Linked DNA regions of Homo sapiens: regions 1, 2, 3, 5 and 6 are each linked to region 4. The links are contacts of gene promoters, found by promoter capture Hi-C in human tissues and cell types (Jung and others, 2019). All regions are on one chromosome and are shown on one strand. The core of a region is centred on a gene start or on the middle of the fragment in contact, and the rest is flanking DNA. Distances in the headings are between cores, read along the strand shown.

Region 1 (3,388 bases), core at 337-2,836, 300 kb before region 4:
ACTTCTACTGATTGGTAATGGGGAATTGGAATCCCGTGTTAAAAAAGATTCTGAGGCATGAGTTCCTGGTGGGAAGGAGTATTTAATGCCCAATCATTAGTATCTACAGTGGGCGTGAGAATCAAGGTGGGATAGCATGCTTGTCTTGTGTCTGCTGAATTTTTACCCTTTTCCAAAGCCTAACTGCTTTGTTAGAGCCCTGTGGGGGTGAATCAGACATTCAGATTGCCTTTGTTCTGCCTGAGCATGAATGCCAAGAGTAATACAGCCATGCTCTCTGGCCTCATCACAAAGACACAGCTGGGGAGGCTTTGATTCAAGCCCAGGGAGACAAGGGAGAGTCTGTGACCGGCGAACCTGGATGAACAGTGACAGAGTTTTTTTCCAAATAACTTAAACCATTTTTTTTATGACACAAAACGACTTCAGTGGCAGATTTTCTTTTTTTCAATGTCATCAATGTCATGTTGACATGGACCCAAACATCTTTTCTCTTTTTTGGGAGAAATAATCAAGAGGCTGAAATATTAGCATTATCAAGACATTATGTGGTTGACAGGGACAAATAGAACAACCTACCTAGAGGCCTTCTCTCCTCACTTAGTTTCTGACACCCAGTTCTATGCTGCCACCTGCCCCCCATCTATCTTCATGGGCATTTTCTTAGCCCCTTGGGTTTTCATGCGCTGTCAGACTTCACCTAGACATGACCACCCTTTTCATTCTGCCTGGACCCCAACTCATGCCAGGCTTCCCTTGTGTGTGGATGCCCTCCTAACGCCCTCCAACTCACGCCGATCATGCCCCCTGGCGTAGACACACTCCTTACCATGCTTGGTCTCTGATTCCCAGTACTAGGCTGCCCTCTGCAGACATGGCCTTCTCATCTTGCTGGCACACTGACTCCTCATTCCCATGCCGCCCCACCTCTCAGACAGCCTCTTTACCACTTGGGTTCCCATACCCCATGCCAGGCATCCCTCCTGCATGCATGTCCTCTTCACCCCACATGGGCCTTGACACCTGCTTGGAGGCACGGTGGCCCGTTCTATCCCTATCAGCCTGTCTTGCTCTACCTCAATAAATAGCTTGAGGATGCATTGTTCAGGAAGGAACAGGAAGGAAGGGAAAAGTGGAAGCACTGTAAAAATGTTATTATATGTCCTGAATTATATATTTACTGAAATGATGTAAAAACAGAAAAAGCAAAAGATAGGAAACACAAGCTGACCACAACATGCAGCGATTCCCCAGTGATAATCCAGTGATTAATATTTTGCTGTACATTCTTTTTCTTCTTTTTCTGTGCATACATATCTGTATCTAAAACTAATCTATATTCCTATCTATATCTATTTTGTCTCTTTGTGAATGTTAGGTATTAGTCATACCTAAACCCAGAAAACAAAAAATGATACAGAGTTTTAGAGAGGGGAGAGCTTGGCATTTTTAATGCTGAGGCTTTGTCTGTAGCAACAGAACTATTTTCTGTAGACAAAATCTGGAACTCCATCTGGTTTTTTTTTTTTTTTTTTTTTTGAGGACTTTAGTCAAGGGATTGGCACAGGAGTGAGTCAGCCTATCTCAGCTACTCTGTGTAGAGTCATCCCATCTGTAAAAAGGAGATAAAACTTGCATGTTTGAAATGCTCATAAAATGCTCTAAAGGTATTTGATGAAAATGGTAAATGTTCAATAAATATTTAAATAAAACAAGAAATGACTTAATATACTTTTTTCTCACCATCTGGGGTCAGAGACATCTTAATAAGTATATAATCAGCCTTCAGGCAAAGACAATTTAGGCAGCTTAAAACATATTTCAATTATGAATTTCACCACATTTTCATTAGAGTTCAAAAGATCCCCAAAAAATGTTTTCCAGGAAAGAAAATGGAAGTTCATAGCCGGGATTTTAATAATGAACTTAGGTCTGGTTTTCATTTGTTTCCATTGATATGTGTGTGTGTGTGTGTGTGTGTGTGTGTAAATATTTAAACATATGGAGAATATATATAATGAGAAAGAAATGGAGTTCCTTTCTCCAGGTCTGTTGCTGCTCTTTTGAGTGGGACAGATGCTCTTGCTGCCTAGGGAGAGAGAGAATCAGATACAGCTCTGTTAGAAGCTAGCAAGAGGTGAGGCAGAGACCAGAACTCAGGGTTCTGACATCAGATCTGAGCCTGTAAAAAAAAAAATGTTGGTCTAAAGTGCACACCCCGAGGATAAACTTCTAATGAAATTTCTGTCTGGCACAAATGTGTAGGAGAATGTTCGTTTCAGAATTGTGACTGGGGAAAATGATTCATAAATTCTGTGAGGAGACTCTCACACAATATCAAGCATTTGCCAACTATAAACAATATAGGATGATAAAAATAGCCGGCTCCCTAGCCCTTGCATTTCATGCAGGCTGTTGTCAGCAGGGTCTGCTGCCTGAGCACATCTCTGCGGCTTTGGGAGGCTCTGGGGAACCCCGTTTTTGAAAGCTGGTCTTGACATTCCTTTCAGGACACCTTGTTACCCAAATCAGTATATCTCTGTCCTTATTAGCTTCATAAATATTTATATTACTAAGTGTCAGAGCCTCGGGGCTCTTGTCACTTTGTCACCTTTATGATGCCTCTCCTGCACTCTCTGTGATGTTGCTTGAATGGATTATATGGCCAGGGGCCAGTGTAGAGTTCCGGATGGTCAGATGGTTGTCTGCACATTAGAAAAAGATGCTGTGTGCAAGAGTGGTAGACATAGGAAGGCAAAAAGAGCACTACGTATGAGGGACAATGCAAAGACTGGGTAATAAGACCTATTTCTGCCTCCACCTCCAGGACCTCTGGAACGACCTCTCAAGGTGTCAGCTTTTCAGATGCCTTCCTTCTGTTTGTCCAGTCATATTCCCCTCCTTCAAGTATTAGCTCAAGTTTATCTCCTTAAAATTAAATGATCTCCATCTCCTATCTGCCAGGCAACTCCTGACCTACTAGATAATTCTCTTTGTTATCATAATTCTTGCATTGCTAAAGGTTATATGTAGTTTAGGTCCAATGACTCACTCTATTATACTATAAGGAAGTTTAGGGGAAGGACTCTGTGTCTTAACCTAGGAACTAAACAGAACACAGCTCTAACATTCTGATTTTCTGGCAGGTAATATAAGAATCAGTAACAAATACTGACCCAGTTTTGTGATCTTTTTCTTTCTGAAAATAAAAATTTGGGGTAAGAGTATTTCTGTATTTATAGACATTTTCAAAAATGTGATAAAATATTTAGAATATTTAAAAGCCTTCTTTAGCGTATCGATTTTAAAAAGAAATATCATGCAAAATTAAAAACATTCTTCTTCTAGAGAAATTCCCATTTCTTTTTCCTGCATTTTCTTCCTTCCT
Region 2 (3,375 bases), core at 794-3,293, 510 kb after region 4:
TGGGACTACAGGCTCCCACCACCATGCCCGACTAATTTTTTGTATTTTTAGTAGAGACGGGGTTTCACCGTGTTAGCCAGGATGATCTGATCTCTTGACCTTGGATCCACCCGCCTCAGCCTCCCAAAGTGCTGGGTTTTACAGGCGTGAGCCACTGCGCCCGGCCTCGTATTTAGATATTCTAATAGTGGGCAGATGATTGCAGTACTTGCTACGACTCTTTTTCCACCTTCTAGCAGGTGTTAGGCAACCAAATGGAAATGAGGGAGCCCTGGGCTGAAGATACAGATTTGAGATCCGTTAGTGAGCAGGTTACTGTTGAGACTTGAGTGTGGAGGATACACAGGAACGCTTAGCACTGTGACTGATACAGAACAGTTTCTCAACAAATATTCGCTACCATGAAAAAGCATCCAATCAAAAGTGTCAAATGCTGTGATTGCAAGAGGAGGACCCATGGGAGAGTTCCAAGTACTACTTGTATGGAAACGCCTGGGCTTGATAAAACAATAGTGTTAAACCGCAGATGCTAGCCAATACACATTGCATTACAGCTGAATTATGTAAACTTTTGGTGTTTCTAATATTCTAAATTGGGTGCCTTTGTGGAAATTGCTCATCTTCTCGGAGGTACCTGCCTAACTGGTTGAAAGACAAGAACACCACCACCTCTCAGAAATGCCGTGCAGATCAACTGAGACAATGTGTCAAGAACATTTGTAAGAGACCGGGCACAGTGGCTCATGCCTGTAATCCCAACAATTTGGGAGGCTGAAGGGGGCAGATCACTTGAAGTCAGGAGTTCAAGACCAGCCTAACCAACAGTGGCGAAACCTCGTCTCCACTGAAAACACAAAACAATTAGCCAGGTGTGGTGGCGCACGCCTGTAATCCCAGCTAATCAGGAGGCTGAGGTGGGAGGATCACTTGAACCCTGGAAGTGGAGGTTGCAGTGAGCCAAGATTATACCACTGCACTCAAAAAAAAAGGAGAAAGATTTTTAAGCCATAAACTACTATACTCACATGAAGTGTCTGTATTAAGTGAGCAGCCATGAGACTTATTGCACATAAAGGAAATGCTTAAATACATCAAATCATAACCCAAAATGAGGCTACACAGGAAAATCATCTCATTCAAATGTATCAACTTATCAAAAATGGCTTTTTAAACTCTTGTCAATTTTGAGTATTTCTTGCTGAATTTTTAATATATTTTGTAAGTTCAGGCCGGGTGCAGTGGCTCATGCCTATAATCCCAGCACTTTGGGAGGCCTAGTCAGGCAGATCACCTGCGGTCAGGAGTTCGAGACCAGGCTGGCCAACATGGTGAAACCTTGTTTCTACTAAAAATACAAAAAAAAAAAAATTAGCCAGGCATGGTGGCACATGCCTGTAATCTCAGCTACTCGGGAGGCTGACACAGAACAATCACTTGAACCCAGGAGGCAGAGGTTGCAGTGAGCTGAGACTACGCCACTGCACTCCAGCATGGGCGACAAAAAAAAAAAAAAAAAAAAAAAAGTTTGTGTTCTGGAAAAAATAGAAATAATATTTCAAATATTTTAAAAGAAATAAGAACTATCTAGAATTAATTCTATCACATGGAATACCAAATTTTAGGCTGGGAAATGTAATGGAAGTGTTTTATTTCATAACAGAATTTTTGCTTCGAATTTTTACCAATTTGGGGAGAAATTTTTTAAAGCATTAACTTTAACGTTTAGAATTTCATCTTCAGTAACTGAGAATGGAACATTCATGTCAATGCTGTTAAAACCACAGTCAGGAAATTTGTTCAATGTGATCATTTGTCACTTGGTCAATTTGCAGAGTTGGCTCTATTTGCAGTAACTCGATGTAGCCAACATGAGGAACAGCAGAGGGCAACAAAGAGTCAGTAGCCGGGTGGAGGGCGGGGGCACATTTTACCCATTGTGCGTATGTCCAAGCAGCAGTTTGGTCTTCGTGTACCTCAGTAGTAGTTTATTTTATTTATTTTATTTTATTTTATTTTATTTTATTTTATTTTATTTTATTTTATTATTTTATTTTATTTTTGGTAAGCGCATGGCCCCATCACATTTGAAGATAATTCAAATTTTTATTTTTTAAGTGTTTTTGTTTGTTTGTTTTATGACACAAAGTCTCACTCTGTCACCCAGGCTGGAGTGCAGTGCTGCGATCTCGGCTCACTGCAACCTCCGCCTCCTGGGTTCAAGCGATTCTCCTGCCTCAGCCTCCCAAGTAGCTGGGACTACAGGCGCCCGCCACCACGCCCGGCTAATTTTTTGTGTTTTTAGTAGAGATGGGGTTTCACCGTGTTAGCCAGGATGGTCTCGATCTCCTGACCTTATTATCTGCCCACCTTGGCCTCCCAAAGAGCTGGGATTACAGGCGTGAACCACCGTGCCTGGCCTATAATTCAAATTTTTAGTCTAATATATCAGTCCAGGCTGGGCACGGTGGCTCATGCCTATAATCCCAGCACTTTGGGAGGCCCAAATGGGTAGATCACCTGAGGTCAGGAGTTTGAGACCAGCCTGGCCAATATGGTGAAACCCTGTCTCTACTAAAAATACAAAAATTAGCCAGGCATGGTGGCACGTGCCTGTAGTCCCAGCTACTTGGGAGGCTGAGACAGGAGAATTGCTTGAACCAGGGAAGTGGAAATTGCAGTAAATCAAGATCGCACCACTGCACTCCAGCCTGGCAGGCAGAGCACTCTGTCTAAATATATATCCAAAGTAGATTGTGTTAGTAATTTTATTCACCAAAACACCAAAAATCCATATACCAAAGCCAAGACTTTAAAGAGAGAGATTTAAAGGTGGTCTGGCCACCCTTGGATGGTTTTAAGTACATGCTATTCCATGATTTGAATCATTCTGTAATACTCTCCACCCAGGAGAGGAACATTCCCAGCTGTGTAGCTGTGTTCTTGGCTTAAACAGAGCTTCTGAAGCTTGGAAACAAATAACCCAGTTGATGCACAATTGAGAACATAAACAGAGAAGAAATGATCCACTCATACCTTCCCAATGAGGGAAGAGGCTGTATCAAGCACATCTTTGCATATTGCACAATTCTCACTAATTGTTGGTTGAGAGTAAGCCAAATCCATTCATATTTACTGAGCCCATGAGCACATTCAAAGTTAAATATAAATGCACCTGGCAATGCCATAACTACAGAAGATATTTTAGGGTAAAAGATATTGCCTGGAATAAGATCCATGCAAGATTGAAAGGAAACACCAAGAGCATCTAAGATGCAAGGATAAAACTTCAAGGTTTGGAGGAGGAAATTGGAATGGGTGCTGATGGGGCAAGGAGGAGCTGGGATGGAGGGTTTGTTGTGCAGGATGAGACACAGT
Region 3 (3,362 bases), core at 839-3,338, 420 kb before region 4:
AGCGTGCCACCACGCCCAGCTAATTTTTTGTATTTTTGGTAGAGACAGGGTTTCACTGTGTTAGCCAGGATGGTCTCGATCTCCTGACCTTGTGATCCACCCAACTCGGCCTCCCAAAGTCCTGGGATTACAGGTGTGAGCCACCATGCCCAGCCAGTTAGACAATATTCTAACCAAATATTGATGTTTCTCTAAGGGTGTTTCTGGATGAAATTAACATTTTTAAAAATTTAATTTAATTTTTATTTATTTTTACATTTCTATAAATGTATGATGTACAAGTGTAATTTTGTTGTATGCATAGATTGCGGAGTGGTGAAATCAGGGTTTTTAGGGTATCCATCAGTCAAATAATGTACATTTTACCCAGTAAGTGGGATTACCATTTGAATAGGTAGACTGAAGAAAGTAAATTATTCCCCTGATGTAGATGGACCTTTTCTTAGCTGCTGAAAGACTACATGGAACAAAAGGTCGAATAAGAATTCTTTCTCTCTGTCTGATTGTCTTCCAGGTGGGATGTCAGTCTCTTCTGCCTTCTGACTTAGGTTCTGACTGGAACTATCACCATCAGCTCTCCTGGGTCTGGACTTCTCAGCCTTCATAATCACGTGAGCCAATTTCTTATAACAAATCTCTTTTTCTTATGCGTGCGCGCGCGCGCGCGCACACACACACACACACACACACACACACAGATTATTGGTTCTGTTTCCCTGAAAACCTTGACTAATACAAGAATTATTCTATGCACCAAGATAAAGTGAATAAGAAAATAAGGCCCCTGCTCTCACTGACCTTAAATTCTTATAATAAACACAGCAAACAAACAAATGAACAGGGATGATATCAAATCATGCACAAGCCTGTGCAGAGAATTAAAACAAGGTAATATGGTGGTAAGTGACTGGATGGCTCTTTTAGACTGGGTGGTCATGGAAAGTCTTTCTGAGGAGGTGACATTTACACTGAGATTTGATGACAAAAGATTAGCGTGCTGGGGCTGGGCGCGGTGTCTCATGCCTGTAATCCCAGCACTTTGGGAGGCTGAGGTGGGTGGATCACAAGGTCAGGAGATCGAGACCATCCTGGCTAATGTGGTGAAACCCCGTTTCTACTAAAAATACAAAAAACCAGCTGGGCGTGGTGGCATGCACCTGTAGTCCTGGCAGGAGAATCACTTGAACCTGGGAGGCGGAGTTTGCAGTGAGCTGAGATTATGCCACTGCACTCCAGTCTGGGCAACAGGGTGAGACTTCATCTCACACACACACACAAAAATTAGCCTGCTGGAAGACCTGGGGGTAAAAGCTTCCCAATAGAGAGAACAGTAAGTGCAAAGGCTCTGAGGTGGGAACAGGCATGGCATGAGTAACAAAGGCCAAAGTGACTAGGATCTAGTGAAAAAGAGACAAGGGGGTAGAAAATGAGGCCAGAGATTTGTCAGAGCCCAGGTAATGTAGAGTTTTGTAAACTATAAGCCAGAGAGAGTTTGAATTTTATTGTAATGATAATGAAAAGCCACTGACAATTTGGGTTCTGGGTAGTAATAGGATCTAATATGAATTTTAAAAATATCACTCTGGCTGCTGTGTAAGGACTGAATCATAGGACTTGCAAAATGACAGTGGGTCCATTTTTCCATTACTCTCTTCTTCTCCCCAACGCCCTACTAAAATGACCATAAATTTAAATAAAAAGGTAAAACCTATAAGTACAAAGGGAATTAAAGAGGATATGATGGCAACACTAATTTAGAAGCTGAAAAACAGATGGGTGAGTGGTATCTGATTTGTCAGCTCCAAGAAAGTACCTGACTTGTCAGGTATAAGGTTGACAATGGGAGAAGCAGAGATTCTGATTTATTCTATAGATACCCTACCCTCCAAAGCTCTTGCAAAGGCTCAGGAATCACCAAGATCAGGTGCCTCTGGAAATGAGGTCGAGGTGAAGGTTGAAGCATTGGTTGATGGTCAGTTTAAGAAGAAAATAGACTTGCAAATTGATTCCCTCATTCCGTGCAGTTGGTGACTGTCCCTCCTGCCCTCTTCAGAAGACTGAAGATTCATTCTTTGTAGGGGTAAAATCTGAGGGTCTCTAGAGTTACCCAGGCACAGTGGGAGAAGGAGTACCAGAATAAAAACAGGTGAATTAAATGAAAGTTTACATAGCATATGAGTTCTTAGAAAGTTGACAGCAAAACTTATAACCCTCAGGCAGGATATTAGAAAAGCTTTTTCTAGGGAAACTGTACTAGTCTAAGAAATATCTGTACTAGTTCAGATATTGACATGGGGATTCCCAAGGAAATAGTCTGAATAGATCACCTTGTGGGGAGGTGTGCAGTTATGTGCACAATCAGCCAGCTTTTTAGCACTTCACTTAAATATTTACAGACTGCCAAGGATCACCAGACATTTGGGCTCCATTGTTTATATTATAATATAAATTATTAAAGCTAATCAAATATACAAACAGAACAAAGTGTCATGGAGGAGATTTCCCTGTAAGAAAAAGAAAATGCAAAATCAGACAAAAAGTTATTTATACTAATTTCCCTGAAAAGATAAAATGCATCTATGGATCAGGGATAGAATGCTAGAAAACAGAAACATTTAGAAAACAAAAAGATCTTGGGACCTACTCCCACCACCATAGCTGTAATTAAAAACATAACACAACAAAACAAAAATCAACTCAGTGGAATGATTCGAAGGAAAAGCTGAGGAAATCTTCCTGGAAATATAGCAAACAAAAAGATTAGGCCGGGTGCAGTAGCTCACACCTATAATCCCAGCACTTCGGGAGGCTGAGGCAGGCAGATCACTTGAGGCCAGGAGTTTGAGACCAGCCTGACCATCATGGCGAAACCTCATCTCTACTAAAAATACAAAAATTAGCCGTGTGTGGTGGTGTGCACCTGTAATCCTAGCTACTTGGGAGGCTGAGGCATGAGATGCTTGAACCTGGGAGGTGGAGATTGCAATGAGCTGAGATTGCACCAGTGCTCTCCAGCCTGGGTGACAGAGTGAACTCTGTCTCAAAAAAAAAAAAAAAAAAAGGAAAGATTAAAGACAAAAAGAAAAAAGTTATGAAAATTTGAGGACTAGGAATTCCAAAACTTAGATAACATGAGTTAATCAAAGAAGTCAGGGAAAAGAGACAGAAAAAAAAAAATCAAGAAACAGTTTTAGAAAATAATCCAGAACTAAAGTACAGAAATCTTCAGATTGAAAGGGTTCTCTGAATGCCCAACACTGTGGGTGAAAATAGACTAACATACATTGTGAAATATCAGGATACTGAGGAACAAAGAGATGATTATGAAAGCTTTCAGAGGATAAAAACGAAAACATCAAGGC
Region 4 (3,261 bases), core at 44-2,543:
ACAGGTCGGGGCATCTATTGCACAATATAGTTCAGCTCCTAAGAAAACCAACCTAGCACAACCAAAATGTGTGTATTTGTGTTTAGTTGTTTCATCCCCATATTGAATGTGCACAGGATTTTATTTCAACTACTATTTTTACTATACCATTTTTTTAAATGGAGACTTTGAAAAGATATGAAACACAATCCCTGTCCTCCTAAAAGTTTGTGAAATCCCAGCCAGAATGTCTTTGAAACCGTCATTCAAGTAGGGCAGTTCTGCCGAGGGCTAGAGAGCCTTCAGTTTACCCTTGGCAACACCCTCTAAAATCCCCTGTATACCTCTCCAGCTTCCATACACTTCCCAAGCTTTTAACCAGACACGAGACACCCTGAACACCAGCTGTTTAGCATTTAGATAAAACCAAAAAATGTTTCGAGAGGTTGACTCCAAAGATAGCAAAAGATGAAGAGATTGAAGATTTAATCGCGAACAAGCCACCCTATTCCTAATAATCATCACGCTTGGCTGGGCCCCGAAGGAAAAGCCTGGACCCTAGGGGCCTAGAAACAGAGAAAAGAAACAAATGCACAGCAGTTGGGCCACGTCCACCTAAGGAACAGTCACCGCACAAGCGGAGCGTTGCAGAGGAGCCCTGGATCACCCTCCCAGGATCGGAATGGGTGCGGCCCGGGGAGCCCGGTTCTAGGTGGACACCGAGGGCTGGGGAGCAACCGGTCCCGCGTGCCTGCCCGAGGGGCTACTGCCCCCGGGCGTATTTGCATCGCCACACCATCGGATGAAAGTAGCGTGTACGGCTCCAGAAAACACATGTCTCTCGGCTATTTTCAGGGGGGAATGCTGGGCACCCTCTGCTCTAAGTCCCTTGGGGTGGGAAGTTAGTGAACTTTCAGAATGGGGGAAGGCGCAGCCCAAGCGAGCCGGGGGCAGGGTGAGGGGGCGCCGCTGGATAGAGATGGGGGAAGGGCGGAGGTGGTTTCCTGAGTGTCTCCCTCCGGAGCCATCCCCGCGCTCAGCCAGCAGGACCGAGGAGGCGCGGAGACGGCGCTCACTTCTCCCCTCGCCTGCCGGCTTTCCAGTAAAGATGCGCCAGGGAGAGGTGTAGCCTGCTCGGGAAAGGCGGGTGCGGAGCGGGAGCGCGGCCGCCCGGGCCTGGGCGCGGCGGGAGGGGCGGCGGCGGCTCCTCACTGCACCAACCTGCAGGCGCGGGCTGGCTGGGCCAGCCGCGGCCCCTCCCACCGCACCCCACCCCCGCCGCCGCCGCCGCCCCGGGAGCCGGCCCGGGTCCCAGTAGGTGCCGCAAGGAGCCGGCGAGCGGAGCGCCCGCTCGGGACCGCAGCCGCCGGGCGACGTCGCCGCCGCACCGGGCACTTCTGTCTCCCCGGAGCAGGTTCCTTTCCCTCCCTGTCCCCTCTCGTCCCCCTTCTCCCCGTCCGTCCCCCTCCGCCCCCGCCCCCGCCCCCGCCCGCACCTCGCCCTCCCTCCTTCCGCCCCGCGCCTCCCGCGATCGCCCCCTCCCGCCCGGCCGCGCTCCCAGCTGGCGCTCAGCACCCCGCGCTCCCCGCGCCCGCTCGCTCCTCCAGCTCCTCCAGCTCAGTCTCCAGCTCCACCTCCGGCTCCCGCTGGGCCTCCCGCTCGCCCTCCGCGCCCGGCTCCCCGCGCGCCCGTCCCGAGTCCGCTGCTCGCCGGCGGCCGCCCGGTCATGTCAGGATGGAGATCCGGCAGCACGAGTGGCTCTCGGCCTCCCCCCATGAGGGCTTCGAGCAGATGAGGCTCAAAAGCCGCCCCAAGGAGCCCTCCCCAAGCCTGACCCGAGTGGGCGCGAACTTCTACAGCAGCGTCAAGCAGCAGGACTACAGCGCCAGCGTCTGGCTTCGGAGGAAAGACAAGCTGGAGCACGTAAGGGCGACTCGCTCCCGGGGGCCTCGGCCAGGCACCTGCCGCATGCACCCTCCCCGTGGTGGTGGCATGAGCGCGCGCGGGGCGCGGGGGGCAGGCGAGGGGATCCTGGCAGGCGCCGACGTCCTAGGTCGGATTCGGGGGCTTCTCTGCCTGCAGTTTCTTGCCTTAATGACCGGGCTGCGGGGAGGGGAGGGCAGGTTCCCTTTCAGGCTCTTGGTCCCTGCCGACCCGACCTGCCCACCTGCGTCTCCCGGTAGGGTTCATTTGCACGGGGTTCTGGAGGTGCCTGTGCAGAGTGAGCACGAAGGGGAAGTGCCACCAGCGTGGCTCCGAGCAACCTGGCGTTGCATGGTAGTGGGCTTTAGAGCGGCGTTTGCCCGCGTCTTTGGGGGCTGTTTTACTCAGTCCAAAAACTAGCAAATTAACGAATGAGTAAAGTTGGCGCCGCTAGCGACCAGCGTGGACCCGCGCACAAGCCATTAGAGTTTTTTGCAGAGTGTCCGCTGGGATGAGCAGTTGGTGATCCTCTCTACTTGAGCCCAACTAGGGAGAGATTTGCGCGTTGCAAGGAGAAAGGCTAAAAGCGAGCGGATCGTCGGGCTCCCCAGAAATCCTCCCCTCTGGAGGGTGGGAGCCGGTGAGAGGGGACCTCTACTCCCAAGGAGTGCCGACTTCACGCGAAGTGAATTGGCTCTGGAGTTGAGCTCCTAAGGCTTGCTATTTTGAAAGAAAAAAAAAAAACCTTCTAAAAAGGCGTTTAGTGGATCCACAGTTTCAAATTTGATCCATCAGCATCTTCTTAAACCAAATGTTAAAATTAAACTAAGAGAATTATCTCAAGAGTGCAGCACAACTAGCTAAGGAGAAGATGCTATTTCTCCCTGCAGAGCTGCAGAATCCAAATTGAGTCTGCTAATGGAATGTGGAGGTTTCCTTGTATTTGGGTCAGGACGCCAACAATGATAAAAAAGATAAGACCAAGAACTCCTGGAACTCACGCATTTCCAACTGCTGCACCGACCTGCTTCCCATCTGCCCCCCAAAGCACTCCTCCTGGGCTCTGCAGCACCAACAGGCTTCTTCCCAGGAGGAAACACGCGAAGAAGGGGCATTTCTCTATTATAATAATCTGAAAGGAAGGTCTGTGCCTGCTTTCTGAGGGCCTGATGAAGTCACTGAAAGCTCTAATATGAAGCTTTGAGTTGGATAACAGCACTATTTTATGTGTAGAGAGCCATTTGCTAATGTCAAAGGGATGCCTCATATCCTTAAGACTATGGAAGTCGCTGAAGGTTTCTAGGATGGCAAGTTGTTTGAAAGGCAACGTATCCATTAAACATGCCCTCTCCAGAATTA
Region 5 (3,285 bases), core at 193-2,692, 370 kb before region 4:
GGCCGAGGCTGGCAGATTACTTGAGGTCACGAGTTCGAGACTAGCCTGGCTAATGTGGTGAAACCCTGCCTCTACAAAAAATACAAAAATTAGCTGGGTGTGGTGGTGTGCACCTGTAGCCTCAGCTACTCGGGAAGCTGAGGCAGGAGAATCACTTGAACCCAGGAGGTAGAGGTCACAGTGAGCCAAGATCAGGCCAGTGCACTCCAGCCTGGGCGACAGAGTGAGACTGTGTCTCAAAGAACAAACACAAATCATCAGTCTTACTAGGGAGTTTTGTTTTTTTTTTTTTACCAAAAGGGGACTTGTACACAAAAAGTGGGTGAAACCACTCTATTTGTTTGTCTGCAATGTGTTGTCTCACAGAACACAGAGCCCCACTGGGCTGCAGGGAACATTCTATGTGTGTCTGAAGAGGCTGCAACAGTTTGCTAGACCTCCCATAACATGGTATCACAGACTGAAGGGCTTTAACAACAGAAATTTAGTTTCTCACAGTTCTGGAGGCAAGAAATTTGACATCAAGCTCCTGGCTGGGCTAGTTTCTCTGAGGCCTCTCTCCCTGGCTTGTAAACAGCTGTCTTCTATTTCTGTGCTCACAAGGTCTTCTCTTGTGCCTCCCTGTATCCTTGCTGCCTCTCCTTATAAGGACTCTAGTCATAGTGGATTAGGGCCCACCCCAGTGAACCCACTTCATGTTAATTACCTCTTTTTTTTTCCTTTTTTGAGATCGAGTCTTGCTCTATTGCCCAGGCTGGAGTACAGTGGCGCGATCTCGGCTCACTGCAACCTCTGTCTCCCAGGTTCAAGTGATTTTCCTGCCTTAACCTCCCAAGTAGCTGGGATTACAGGCGTGTGCCGCCACACCTGGCTGATTGTTTGTATTTTTAGTAGAGATGGGGTTTTACAATGTTGGCCAGGCTGGTCTCGAACTCCTGACCTCAGGTGATCCACCTGCCTCAGCCTTTCAAAGTGCTGAGATTACAGGTGTGAGCGAGCGGTAACCGCACCTGGCCATGTTAATTACCTCTTTAAGGAGCATATGTCCAAAGACAGTTAGATTCTGAGGCACTGAGTGTATGAATTTGTGGGAGGGAACACAATTCATCCGATAACATATACTAACTCACTCCGGAGTACACATATGTCAGATTGTATAGCTACAGCCCGATAACTTTCCAAAAGGGCTGTAGCAGGTACATTGTCACCAGCAGTCCCTGAAGGTAGCTGGTTCCCTGCATTCAGCCTCCCCTGGAGGTTAACATTTCTAATGTTTTGCCAACCTGGTGTCTGTGTGGCAAGTACAATCACGTTGTTCCTTTCATTCCCAAGTTTCCCAATGGATGTGTTTGTTGTCTTTCAGTTGTTTAATATCTGCTCAGGGCGTCTTTTCCCTGAGCCAAATGCTCAGATCCCCTAGGTTCTCTGATGAGCTTTCTGCCTGGAGTCTCCTGGCATTTTCCCTTTTGCCAGGTGTGGGATTGTTTTAGCTATTTCTCAAGACTCCCTTTAATGTTAAAGGAAGAAAAACAAATTATGTTGCTTTAAGTCCAAAGAGTTCTTCTAGAGTGTCTTGCCCTGTGCACTGTCTCTGAAAAGGAGAGGAAAGGAAGCTTCCCCAGGCCCTTCTCCTCCATGGCAGGAGCAGGCTGAGCCTCAGGTAGTTTAGAGGGAATTTCATGCAGCCTCCCTTGTGGATGATTCTCTGTTCTGACTGATGTGCTGTTGAGCAGCCATTTGACATCCAAAAGTCTGTGTCTTCTCATCTATACAATGAGTGTATTTTTTTTGAGGACTCACTTGGATAGTGCTCTTCATACAGGCTGTTAATACAGGTGGGTGCTGTTGCTCCACAGTTGCCAAATACTGTGATGGTGCCTTGAAGCTATTAATGATTTAATGAATATCTGTCCCCCCCATCACATTTTACATTGAAAGTCTAAAACCTTTTTCACCATGAACACCCATGTCCTCCACATGCACAAGTCCCTGAAGGGTTGAGGCTTCCTAGTCTGATCTCCAGATCCCAATTCCCTGGTGGCTCATGATGCTGTCACTGACCGTGTCCTTCCTGGTCCTCTCTAGTATGAAAATGAGCGTACTCTGAACCTAGGGGAGATCTGTACTATGCAGAGGGACCCCCCAGCCAGGCACAAGGGAGAGGCTGGTGGAATCCCTGGTTCCAGCCTTCCAGGGTCAAACCATCCCCTCCTTCAGGAGCTTCCTGGGCTCCTAGTGGGACTTCACCACCATCCTACAGTTCTTGTAAGGGAGGAGACCACCCCTCATATTGTCTTATGCCCAATTTCTGTCTCCAAAGAAAGAAGAACTAAGAACTAAAAGGCAGAAATGAAATCCACAGGCAGACAGCCCGGCGCCACACCCTGGGCCTGGTAGTTAAAGATCGACCCCTGACCTAATCGGCTATGTTATCTACAGATTCCAGACATTGTATAGAAAAGCACTGTGAAAATCCCTGTCCTGTTCTGTTCCATTCTAATTGCTGGTGCATGCAGCCCCCAGTCACGTACCGCCTGCTTGGTCAATGGATCACGACCCTCTCACGCAGACCCCCTTAGAGTTGTGAGCCCTTAAAAGGGACAGGAATTGCTCACTCTGGGAGCTCGGTTGTTGGAGACGTGAGTCTTGCCGAAGCTCCCGGCCGAATAAAGCCCTTACTTCTTTTTTTTTTTTTTTTTTTTTTTTTTATTATACTTTAAGTTTTAGGGTACATGTGCACATTGTGCAGGTTAGTTACATATGTATACATGTGCCATGCTGGTGCGCTGCACCCACTAACTCGTCATCTAGCATTAGGTATATCTCCCAATGCTATCCCTCCCCCCTCCCCCCACCCCACAACAGTCCCCAGAGTGTGATGTTCCCCTTCCTGTGTCCATGTGATCTCATTGTTCAATTCCCACCTATGAGTGAGAATATGCGGTGTTTGGTTTTTTGTTCTTGTAGATAGTTTCCTGAGAATGATGATTTCCAATTTCATCCATGTCCCTACAAAGGACATGAACTCATCATTTTTTATGGCTGCATAGTATTCCATGGTGTATATGTGCCACATTTTCTTAATCCAGTCTATCATTGTTGGACATTTGGGTTGGTTCCAAGTCTTTACTTCTTTAACTCAGTGTCTGAGGGGTTTTGTCTGCGGCTTGTCCTGCTACACCTGGAGCAGCTGTTCAGCAGGCGAGTGTCTGTTTCTTTCAAGGCACACCCTACTACCTACTAGCTGTGTCTAGGGATGCCACTGCAGCTTTCTGAGCCTCAACT
Region 6 (3,381 bases), core at 880-3,379, 330 kb before region 4:
CCTTAAAAGCTGTGAGACAAAAGCACCAGGTAACCTATAAAGGAAATCCTATCAGATTACCAGCAGATTTCTCAGCAGAAACCCTGAAAGCTAGAAAGGATTGGGGTCCTATCTGCAGCCTTCTCAAACAAAACAATTATCAGCCAAGAATTTTGTATCCAATGAAACTAAGCATCGTATATGAAGGACAGATACAGTATTTTTCAGACAAACAAATGCTGAGACAATTAGTCACTACCAAGCTACCACTACAAGAACTGCTAGAAGGAGCTCTAAATCTTGAAACACATCAAAACAGGACGTCTTTAAAGCATAAACCTCACAGGACCTATAAAACAAAAATAGAAGTTAAAAAACAAAGACAGAAAACAAAAAAACCCAAAGTACACAGGCAACAAATAGCATGATGGATGTGATGGTACCTCATACCTCAATAGTAACATTGAATGTAAATGACCTAAATGCTCCACTTAAAAGACGCAGAACAGCAGAATGGATAAGAACTCACCAATCAACTATCTGCTGCCTTCAATAGAGTCACCTAACACATAAGGACTCATATAAAGGGGTGGAAAAAGGCATTTCATGCAAATGGACACCAAAAGCAAGCAGGGGTAGCTATTCTTACATCAGACAAAAGAAACTTTAAAGCAACAGCAGTTAAAAGAGACAAAGAGGGACATTATATAAGGTAAAAGGCCCTGTCCAACAGGAAAATATCACAATCCTAAACATATATGCACCTAACACTGGAGCTTCCAGATTTATAAAACTATTACTAATAGACCTAAGAAATGAGATAGACAGCAACACAATAATAGTGGGGGACTTCAGTACTCCACTGACAGCACTAGACAGGTCAACAAGACAGAAAGTCAACAAAGAAACTATGGAGTTAAACTATGCCTTGGAACAAATGGACTTAACGGATATATACAGAACATTCCATCCAACTACAGCAGAATATATATTCTATTCAACAGCATGTGGAGCATTCTCCAAGATAGACCATATGATAGGCCACAAAAGAGCCTCAATAAACTAAAGAAAATTGAAATTAGGCCAAGCACTCTCTCAGACCACAGTGGAATAAAATTGTAAATCAACTCCAAATGGAAACTTCAAAACCATGCAAATACATGGAGCTTAAATAATCTGCTCCTGAATGATCCTTGGGTCAAAACGAAATCAAGATGGGAATAAAAAATTATTCAAACATAATGACAATAGTGACACAACCTATCAAAACGTCTGAGATACAGCAAAGGTGATGCTAAGAGGAAAGTTTATATCCCTAAACGCCTACATCAAAAAGACTAAAAGAGCACAAACTGACAATCTAAGGTCACACTTTAAGGACCTAGAGAAGCAAGAACAAATCAAACCAAAACCCAGCAGAAGAAAGGAACTAACCAAGATCAGAGCAGAATTAAGTGAATTGAAACAAAAAAATTACAAAAGATAAATGAAACAAAAAGCTGGTTCTTCAAAAAGATAAATAAAATTGATAGAGCATTAGCAAGATTAACCAAGAAAAGAAGAGAGAAAATCCAAATAACCTTAATAAGAAATGAAATGAGAGATTTTACAACTGACACCACGGAAATACAAAAGATAATTTGAGGCCAGTATGAACACATTTACATGCATAAACTAGAAAACCTAGATGAGATGGATACATTCCTGGAAAAATACAACCTTCCTAGCTTAAATCAGGAAGAAGTAGATACCCTGAACAGACCAATAACAAGCAGTGAGATTGAAATGATAATTTAAAAATTACCAACAAAAAAAATCTAGGACCAGATGGATTTGCAGCAGAATTCTACCAGACATTCAAAGAAGAATTGGTACCAATCCTATTGACACTATTCCACAAAACAGAGAAAGAGGGAACTCTCCTTAATTCATTCTATGAAGCCAGCATCACCCTAATGCCAAACCTAGGAAAGAACATAAACAAAAAAGAAAAGTATAGACTGATATCCCTGATGAACATAGATGCTAAAATCTTTAACAAAATACTAGCTAACTGAATCCAACAACATATCAAAAAGATAATTTACCACGATCAAGTGGATTTCATACCACGGATGCAGGGATGGTTTAGCATACACAAGTCAATAAATGTGATAAACCACATAAACAGAATTAAAAACAAAAGTCACATGATCATGTCAATAGATACAGAAAAATCATTTGACAAAATCCAGCATCCCTTTATGATGAAAACTTTCAGCAAAATCAGAATACAAGGGACATACCTCAATGTAATAAAAGCCATCTATGACAAACCCACAGCCAACAGAATACTGAATGGGGAAAAGTCGAAAGCATTCACTCTGAGAACTGGAACAAGACAAGGATGCCCACTCTCACCACTCCTCTTCAACACAGTACTAGAAATCCTAGCCAGAGCAATCAGACAAGAGAAAGAAATAAAGAGCATACAAACAGATAAAGAGGAAGTCAAACTGTCACTGTTGATGATATGACAGTTTACCTTGAAAACCCTAAAGATTCCCCTAGAAAGCTCCTACAACTGATAGAAGAATGCAGCAAAATTCCTGGATGCAAAATTAATGTACACAAATAAGTAGCTCTTCTATACACCAACAGCAACCAAGTGGAGAATCAAATCAAGAATTCAACCCCTTCTACAATAGCTGCAAAAAACATAAAATGCTTGGGAATATACCTAACCAAGGAGGTGAAAGACCTCTACAAGGAAAACTACAAAACACTGCTGAAAGAAATCATAGATGACACAAATGGAAACACATCCCATGCTCATGGATGGGTAAAATCAATATTGTGAAAATGACCATACTGTCAAAAGCAATCTATAAATTCAATGCAATCCCCATCAAAATACCACCATTATTCTTACAGAATTAGAAAAAACAATCCTAAAATTCATATGGAACCAAAAAAACAGCCTGCACACCCAAAGCAAACCTAAGCAAAAGAACAAATCTGGAGGCATCACATTACCTGATTTCAAACTATACTATAAGGCCATAGCCGCCCAAACAGTATGGTACCAGTATAAAAATAGGCACATAGACCAATGGAAAAGAATAGAGAACCCAGAAATAAACCCAAATACTTACAGCCAAATGATCTTTAACAAAGCAAACAAAAACATAAGGTGAGGAAAGGACACTGTTTTCAACAAATGGTGCTGGGATAATTGGCTAGACACATGTAGGAGAAGGAAACTGTAACCTCATCTCTCACCTTATACAAAAATTAACTCAAGATGGATTAAGGACTTAAATATCAGACCTGAAACTATAAAAATTCTAGAAGACAACATTGGAAAAACCCTCTAGGCATTGGCTTAGGGAAGGATTTCATGACCAAGAACCCAAAAGCAAA

The links. Contacts are between HindIII fragments. The study calls those that stand out against the background at their distance.
Region 1: a fragment that was not itself captured here is called in contact with the fragment with the promoter of PLD5 in region 4 in 1 of the 25 tissues and cell types used here (hippocampus).
Region 2: a fragment that was not itself captured here is called in contact with the fragment with the promoter of PLD5 in region 4 in 1 of the 25 tissues and cell types used here (bladder).
Region 3: a contact is called between a fragment that was not itself captured here and the fragment with the promoter of PLD5 in region 4, in 2 of the 25 tissues and cell types used here (adrenal gland and mesendoderm cells).
Region 5: a contact is called between a fragment that was not itself captured here and the fragment with the promoter of PLD5 in region 4, in 6 of the 25 tissues and cell types used here (H1 embryonic stem cells, adrenal gland, bladder and 3 more).
Region 6: a fragment that was not itself captured here is called in contact with the fragment with the promoter of PLD5 in region 4 in 5 of the 25 tissues and cell types used here (H1 embryonic stem cells, dorsolateral prefrontal cortex, mesenchymal stem cells and 2 more).

Annotation. Positions count from the first base shown.
Region 1 is chr1:242,825,903-242,829,290 of GRCh38, reverse strand. No RefSeq gene overlaps it. Among named protein-coding and RNA genes, the nearest start is that of LINC01347, 270 kb to the left of the region's middle. The HindIII fragment of the contact is 4,027 bases long and covers 1-3,388 here.
Region 2 is chr1:242,016,313-242,019,687 of GRCh38, reverse strand. No RefSeq gene overlaps it. Among named protein-coding and RNA genes, the nearest start is that of MAP1LC3C, 19 kb to the right of the region's middle. The HindIII fragment of the contact is 9,592 bases long and covers 1-3,375 here.
Region 3 is chr1:242,941,903-242,945,264 of GRCh38, reverse strand. No RefSeq gene overlaps it. Among named protein-coding and RNA genes, the nearest start is that of LINC01347, 160 kb to the left of the region's middle. The HindIII fragment of the contact is 4,970 bases long and covers 1-3,362 here.
Region 4 is chr1:242,522,729-242,525,989 of GRCh38, reverse strand. PLD5 (phospholipase D family member 5) reads left to right here and starts at 1,293. Exons shown (of 10, transcript NM_001372062.1): 1 at 1,293-1,902. The coding sequence starts at 1,714. The HindIII fragment of the contact is 9,545 bases long and covers 1-3,261 here.
Region 5 is chr1:242,891,500-242,894,784 of GRCh38, reverse strand. No RefSeq gene overlaps it. Among named protein-coding and RNA genes, the nearest start is that of LINC01347, 210 kb to the left of the region's middle. The HindIII fragment of the contact is 6,988 bases long and covers 1-3,285 here.
Region 6 is chr1:242,850,200-242,853,580 of GRCh38, reverse strand. No RefSeq gene overlaps it. Among named protein-coding and RNA genes, the nearest start is that of LINC01347, 250 kb to the left of the region's middle. The HindIII fragment of the contact is 9,355 bases long and covers 1-3,381 here.